2 separate regions of the Homo sapiens genome follow, and region 1 is linked to region 2. Evidence: promoter capture Hi-C in human tissues and cell types (Jung and others, 2019). All regions are on one chromosome and are shown on one strand. The core of a region is centred on a gene start or on the middle of the fragment in contact, and the rest is flanking DNA. Distances in the headings are between cores, read along the strand shown.

The links. Contacts are between HindIII fragments. The study calls those that stand out against the background at their distance.
Region 1: a fragment that was not itself captured here is called in contact with the fragment with the promoter of TUBG2 in region 2 in 9 of the 25 tissues and cell types used here (H1 embryonic stem cells, IMR-90 fibroblasts, adrenal gland and 6 more).

Annotation. Positions count from the first base shown.
Region 1 is chr17:42,585,081-42,589,043 of GRCh38, forward strand. It overlaps RETREG3 (reticulophagy regulator family member 3), which reads right to left. Exons shown (of 9, transcript NM_178126.4): 3 at 2,754-2,784; 4 at 1,685-1,811; 5 at 973-1,057; 6 at 45-182. Among named protein-coding and RNA genes, the nearest start is that of PSMC3IP, 9.3 kb to the left of the region's middle. The HindIII fragment of the contact is 8,959 bases long and covers 1-3,963 here.
Region 2 is chr17:42,657,339-42,661,203 of GRCh38, forward strand. TUBG2 (tubulin gamma 2) reads left to right here and starts at 1,946. Exons shown (of 11, transcript NM_016437.3): 1 at 1,946-2,214; 2 at 2,496-2,608; 3 at 2,811-2,978; 4 at 3,301-3,369. The coding sequence starts at 2,166. RefSeq lists enhancers at 1,778-2,545, 1,903-1,962, 1,973-2,042, 2,093-2,162. The HindIII fragment of the contact is 23,957 bases long and covers 1-3,865 here.

The DNA.
Region 1 (3,963 bases), core at 745-3,244, 72 kb before region 2:
GCCCCAAATTGCGTAAGTGGAAAGAATGACACCATGACACTTACATTGTCTCTCTCTCTGCTTGGACATCATGTAGCCACGGACACTGAAGTCTAGCCGCTGCAGAGCTGGCTTCAGCCGCACATATGCTCGATCCCACAGTCGGTGGTACACAGCAAGGGGCCACATCATGACAGTGACAACTGTGAGGAGGCATGGGAAACAGTGACAAAATGGAGAAGGGGCTGCAAAAAACATTCCCAACTGTAGCGCTGCTATTGGTCCTTAGGGCTTGGACACAAAGTGTGGAACAGATCTGCCCAAGTCTGCCAGTCATCTTCACCAGTCTCCCCTACACATGAAGGAGTCTTTGAGGGCAGGGACTTCTACAGCCACCCACAAAGCCTACTGCAGGGTTGTGCACAGCACAGTATGCTGCTGACAGGCCAAGGGCAGAACCTGGCAATGGGTGTCACTGAGCCATAAATGGAAATTACACAACAAATCATGCGAGGTTTTGATATACAAAAGCCACAGGCATAAGTACTTAGTTCTTCCAGCCCCAAGCAAGCTGAGTACATGCCAACAGGAAGTAACTAAATTTACAAAACTATGCTCCAAGTGGGAAAAAAGTACTCTGGCATAAATAGAACCTAGCAGAGAAACCCCTAAGAGTTATGTTCTGCTGACAATACCCTGGCTCTAAAAATTCTCTCCTTAAACAGGGACAGGCAGTCCTTTATAGTTGGTAATACCAACAATATATGTTAGTGGACCCTCATCAATTTCTGACTTGGTAAGAAATGAACTTTGTATGTGGAGAGCCTGCTAAAGAAGGATATTTTCATGACACTAAACAGGTCATGAAAATATGCAAAGGTCATATCCTAGAGAATTGAAATATAACAGTCCTCTCCCCACACCTAGAGTTAGCCATAGTTGGAAAGCTATGAGCAGGGTATACTTTGTAGGGGAGGTATATGTCATACTTACGCATCAAGTAGGACAGCAGAAGCCCAGGGACGTAGCGGCCCAAGACAGCCAAAAAGGTCAGTATCCCACAGCTCAGCAAGCAGAACTGGGGAATCAAGAAAGAGTATTAAGTTTCTGTCACATGGCAGGGGACTGGGGTGGGTGTGAAGGGTTAGGGTAGAGATATGACAGAAAGACTCTGTAAGTCAAGCATGGACGTGCAGCCACTGTTGCATCCAAAGGTGATTCTGTTTGGGAAGAAAAGGAGCATGTCCCCTTCTATTCAAACTCCTTTTACATGGCTAACCCCATAGGGCTGCACCTTTCCTGCCAAGAAATTGGTTTGAATAGGACTTAGCCAAAAATTCTCTCTGAAAGCAATGTTGGTGGTGGTTTTTTAAGTCAACAGAAACACACACAAAACCCAAAAAAACACAACAACCTATCACATATTTAATATGACACAGAATGTACACAAGAAAGCTTTCTTTCCTATCTTGAAGCAAGAAAACGGCCTCATCTAAGTGGCAACCACACCAAATGAGCAGTCACCAAGCTCCTGTGTTAGTCCTAATGGCTGGTCAGAAGGCCTTTCCTATAGCTTCCTTTTGTCTCTATGAACATCATAGTCTTTACTTTCTTGAATGAAGACACATAGTAAAGGAGCTGTTTCAGTTTAGCATGAACTGAACTGAGAGGCCAGAGATGAAAGTGAAAAAGGGAAGAGTCTTACCTTGCCTGGGTTTTGCTTTTTGAAAAGCAAAACATTCCTTATGAAAATGGTCCCACTAACCCAGACTTCAGCTACATGGTGGCAGAGCTCGGGCACGCTGAGCAACCGAGGGTGCACAAAGCCCCAGCTATGGGAGAGAGAAGGGGGAGCTGTGAAAGGAGGGTGTTGAGGGTCCCCCCATCTTGCTGTGCAGGCAGCCAGTGCTTCCGGTTTTAAATGGGGTTTGGGGAGTGACTAGGCCCAGGTGCTTTGGAGGTGAAGCATGACTTTCTTCTTGGCTCACCAGGTTGAAATCTGAATTTAGGTACAAGGAGGACAAACTTGTTCTGACAACTCCACCCTATGAGCAAGCAGCCCAATCCACGTGTGTAAACCTGTCCCCAGCTCCAAGGCCCTTTGTGCTTAGAAACGTTTTCTTCCTTGCACTCAGACCATTCCAATTCCCTGTGATTGCAATCCAGGGATAAAAGTGAGCATAGTCTGACTGACACCACTGCTGCTAAGGGGGAGGAAATGGTGGATGTGCCCCTTAGAAAGAAAATAAATAAAGCAAAACCAAAATAAACCACAGCAGAGAAAATTCTTTGGATCAAACAAATGGAGTGGATGAACTGAGAAATGAAAGCAGGAGCTGTAAGACACAAGAGGAATCTTTGGCTTTGACTTGCTGATGCCAGGAACCAATGTGTTTTCTGACCGGGAACTTTAAATAGCCAGAGGTCACAGAAAACACTAAATGACCTGGTATAAAAGCCAGGAGACAAATGAAGTTAGCTGCCTTTAAGTTTTCTCACTGGGACTGAATAATGCAGCTGATTCCCTGGCATGTCAGGTTATGGGGCACTGTAATGCTTCTTTTTCAGAAACTTCTCTTGTAAAGATCAGAGGACACAGGCCATCTCAACATATTGCTGCCTGAACTTTAGGATGTGTTAAAATGATCATTTGGAACAGCCTAGGTTCTCAGTTTACACTGTGTGTCCAGAACATGGGGTTAACAACATGTAACCAGAATATTACAAGAGAATGAATCAGAGCAACAAAAAGGGATTTAATTAGTGTTCCATACCTCTCATTGTCTAATGCGTCGGGTCTTGGCACTACAATATTAAAACAAACACCAGCATTAGTTGGTAGGGAAAACTAAACATGAAAATGTTAGGCTGTTGGTCTGACAGCTCAAGTTTTAATAGGTTGGGGAAAAGAAAACAGTAATAGCCGATAAAAAAGGAGACACTGTGTTATACTGCCAGTTAGGGAGCTGCAGACAAGGGAATAATCACTTATGCCTACTCATTTTTCGAGGGGAAGGAAGGGAGGTCCAAATGGACTATTTGAGCCCCCTTCTAATGACCTCAGCTGAAAGCCAAGGTGTACAAGAAAAATGGTCCATCTCACCCCTTGAGTGTGTCTGGGATACCCATACACATCAATCTGTGCCAGGCTACACAAGGTACGTTGTAACAACTCCAACCCTAGAAATCCACCTGTTGTGTTTATTTTTTTTGAGACAGAGTCTTCTCGCTCTGTTGCCCAGCCTGGAGTGCAGTGGCACGATCTTGGCTCACTGCAAGCTCCGCCTCCCATTCTTCTGCCTCAGCCTCCTGAGTAGCTGGGACTACAGGCACCCACCACAATGCCCGGCTAATTTTTTTTTTTTTTGGAGACAGGGTCTTGCTCTGTAGCCCAGGCTGGAGTGCAGTGGCGTGATCTCAGCTCACTCAGCCTCCCGAGTAACTGGGATTACAGGCACACGCCACCATACCTGGCTAATTTTTGTGTTTTTAGTAGAGATGGGGTTTCACCATGTTGGCCAGGCTGCTCTCGAACTCCTCCACCTCCCAAAGTGCTGGCATCACAGGCGTGAGCTACCGTACCCAGCCGAAATCTGCCTGTTCTCTTTATTTTTTTGAGACAGAATCTCACTCTGTCACCCAGGCTGGAATGCAGTGGCACGATCTTGGCTCACTACAACCTCCACCTCTGGTGTTCAAGCAATTCTCCTGCCTCAGCCTCCCAAGTAGCTGGGATTATAGGCACCTGCCACCACGCCTGGCTATTTTTGTGTTTTTAGTAGAGACAGGTTTTTGCTATGTTGGCCAGGCTGGTCTTGAACTCCTGACTTCAGGTGATCCACCCACCATAGCCTCCCTAAAGTGCTGGAATTACAGGTGTGAGCCACCACACCCAGCCTGCCTGTTCTCTTTAAAAAGAGACCCAGAGCTAGGTGTAGTGATGCTCACTTATAGTTCTGCCTCCTTGGGGGGCTGAGGCAGGAG
Region 2 (3,865 bases), core at 696-3,195:
GGCAACGAGAGCGAAACTCCATCTAAAAAAAAAAAAAAAAAAAGATTGTAACTTGGCTACTTGGCTGAGCATGGTGGCTCATGCCTGTAACCCAGCACTTTGGGAGGCTGAGGCAGGTGGATTACCTGAGCTCAGGGGTTCGAGACCAGTCCGGGCAACATGACAAAACCCCTGTCTCTACTGAAAATACAAAAAAATTAGCCGGGTGTGGTGGTGCACACCTGTAATCTCAGCTACTAGGGAGGCTGAGCCAGGAGAATCGCTTGAACCTGAGAGAGGCAGAGGTTGTAGTGAGCCGAGATCATGCCACTGCACTCCAACCTGGGCAACAGAGTGAGACTTAGTCTCAAAAAAAAAAAAAAATCTTAAGTGGCATTTACAGTGTTTGTGATTCTAGATCAGGCTACGTTTCATTCCATAAAATAAATAGAATGAGTGTTCAGATGAGTCAAGCACAGGTTAGTTTTTATGGACAAAAAAGGGTAGAGAAAAATAGAAACAGAAGGAAAAAAAGCAGATGGGTCCTTTCAAAGTTACTTTTCTTGTAAAAGGACTTCCGTATCATGCCGGCTCACACTGGCTTGTTTGGGGTTTTGGCTCTTCCTTCCCTCTCCTGATTCCTCTGAAGGTTTGATAAACAACTTAGTGTTGCTTAGTGACATAGAACTTTAGCGTGAGTGACTCCATTTTGGTTTGGTCTGTTGAGCCAAGCACAGGAGCTCAGTGCAAATCAATGGCCTCCTATAAAATTTATTTAACTGAACCCTTGTGCATTGCTGGTGGGAATTTAAAATGGTGCAGCTACCATGGAAAATCGTATGGCGATTCCTCAGAACATTAAACACAATTACCATATGATCCAGCAATTCTACCTCTGGGTGTATATCCAAAATAATTGAAAGCAGGGACTCGAACAGATATTTGTACACTCACATTCAAAGCAGCAACATTCACAATAGCCAAAAGGTGGAAGCAACCCAAATGTCCATGGAGGGATGAATGGTTATGCAAAATGTGGTACATCTATACAATGGAATATTATTCAGTTGTAAAAAGGAAGGAAATTCTGACACATGCTACGAAATGGAAGGATCTTGAAGATATTATGTTAAGTGAAAGAAGCCAGACCCAAAAAGACAAATACTGTATAATTCCACTCATATCAGGTGCCTAGAGTAGTCAAGGGGAAGTTACTGTTTAATCGCGATAGAGTTTCAGTTTGGGAAGATAAGAAAGTTCTAGAAAAGAATGGTGGTGGTGGTTACAGAACAATGTGAGTGTACTTGGTGCCACAGAACTGTATGCAGTACTTACAAATGGTTACAATGGTAAATTTAGGCCAGGAGTGGTGGCTCATGCCTGTAATCCCAGCATTTTGGGAGGCCAAGGCAGGAGGATTGATTGAGGCCAGTAGTTTAAGACCATCTTGGGCAACACGGTGAGATCCCCATCTCTATAAAAATACATTTTAAAAATTTAAAAATTAGCTGGGCGTGGTAGCACACGCCTGTAGTCCCAGCTACTCGGGAGACTGAAGTGGGAGGATCACTTAAGCCAGAAGTTCAAGGCTACAGTGAGCTATGATCGCGCCACTGCACTCCAGCCTGGGCGACAGAGCGAGACCCTTCTAAAAAATAAAAAGGTAACATACATGTGTATGTATTGTAACACCATTAAAAAACAGAAATTTAAACGAAGAAAAGTTGGCTTCTAGCCCTTTGATCTAGCAAAGCTGACAGTGTCCTCACCTACCAATATAGGTAGATGACTCCTTACACGTGGACAAGCACATCCACCTGGCCGCTTCTCCCCTTTCCTCCCCTCCCCCGTTCCTCTCCTCCCCAACACATCCAGGTTCCGACCCTGCCACCCCCAACGAGTCTCACTGCGCAGGCGCGGAGCGGTGGGCAGGAGCGGGCGTGGCCTGACTCTGCGCCTGTGCGGAATTCCAGCTGCGACTGCTGAGGGAGAAAATGATGCCCAGGTTGGGCTCCCCGGCCCACCGGCCGAGGAGAGGCCTGCGCTGCACACGCGCAGACCGAGCATCCGCGTCAAGAGGCGAAGAGAGCGCGCGCTCCCCACGTCCTGCGCTCCTGGCTGCCGGGCATTCGTCTCAGCCGTGACTCTCGCCAGGCCGGGGCTGGCGCGCCCACGTCTGAAGAGCGATGCCCCGGGAGATCATCACCCTGCAGCTGGGCCAGTGCGGCAACCAGAGTGAGCAAGCGAGCGCCGGCCCCGCCGGTCTCTGGTTCTGCCCCTTCGGGTCCCACCCAAGTGCCTGGCTTCCACCAGTCCCCCTTTCCCTTCCATGAACCCCCTGCCCTGCTGCTCTGGATAACCCAGACCGAGAGCTGCGCCTCCAGCCCGGGGCTGGGGCAGCTACCAAACCCAGGCATCTTGGGTCCACCCTCTGATCGTGTCAGCCTCTGAGACTAAAACTGGGCTCCTCAGGCCTTAAGGCTCCAGCAGACCCGGGCATCTCCCCCCTCCCCCAGTTGGGTTCGAGTTCTGGAAACAGCTGTGCGCCGAGCATGGTATCAGCCCCGAGGGCATCGTGGAGGAATTCGCCACCGAGGGCACTGACCGCAAGGACGTCTTTTTCTACCAGGTGCCCCCAGCGACTTGGCCGGGGGCGGCAGTGGCCCAAGGGGGCGGAAGGGAAGGGAGTGGCCTGGTACTGGGAACCCCGCTGGGCAGTAGGGCCAGGCGGCTGGCTTGAGGAGGGAGGGCCGGAGGGAGCCAGAGTTGGGAGGACTTCGGACTTGGGCCGCCCTAGCTGATTGGGCCCCCTCCTGGACTCCCCTTGACAGGCAGACGATGAGCACTACATCCCCCGGGCCGTGCTGCTGGACTTGGAACCCCGGGTGATCCACTCCATCCTCAACTCCCCCTATGCCAAGCTCTACAACCCAGAGAACATCTACCTGTCGGAACATGGAGGAGGAGCTGGCAACAACTGGGCCAGCGGATTCTCCCAGGTGTCCTAGCGACCATTCCAGAGACCTTTGATATTCCCATCCAGAGGCAAGGCAGGCTCAAGCTACTAGGAATTTGACCTGACTGACAGAAAATAAGAGACAAAAGGATGTCCCGAACAAGAGGGACAGCCAGGGAGAGGTTTATGCAAATTTTGTGCAAATCATTTGCAATAGTAGCACTTCTGGGTTGAGGGCTACAGCCTAGGCTCTGCTTCAGGGTGGCAACAATATTCCAGGGTAGACAGAATTCTTGGTGCTGTGCTGAGAAAAGATGCTCTCTGGAACCTTTGGCCTGACCCTCCCTTTCCATATCTCTATACAGGGTGAGAAAATTCATGAAGACATCTTTGACATCATAGACCGAGAAGCAGATGGAAGTGACAGTTTGGAGGTGAAGTTATGGAGTGGGGGAAGGAATGGGCAGGGAGGCCGAAGAGTGCTGGGGACAGGTCAGGAGGTGGCCTGGATAGGTAATATGAGGGGAGCAATTCAATTCAAAACCCGTTTATGGAGCATCAGATGTGGGATATTGAGGTGAATAAGATATAATCTTTGTTCTCAAGGAAGTCATAAATCTGAATGGCACCGGCCCCTTAGGCATGAGTCATTCAGCTGCTTCTCCAGCTCCAAACCTTCCCAAGGAGCCTCAGCCTGGATGCATAAGAGGAAGCTTTGAGACATTGGCGTTTTGGGAATGGAGAATGAACCAAGCCGAAGTCTCTCCCCCAGATCCTTGGAGACTGCCTCTCCATCTCTCCCCATGCTGGGTGCGATATGTTCCTGGCTTACAGCTCTTATAACCCATGTAATTTCCTAAGGGACTAGAGCAATAATAGTATGTTTTGTTAAAATATTTGACCTTTTGTCCTTGGTTTCTGAAACAGCTC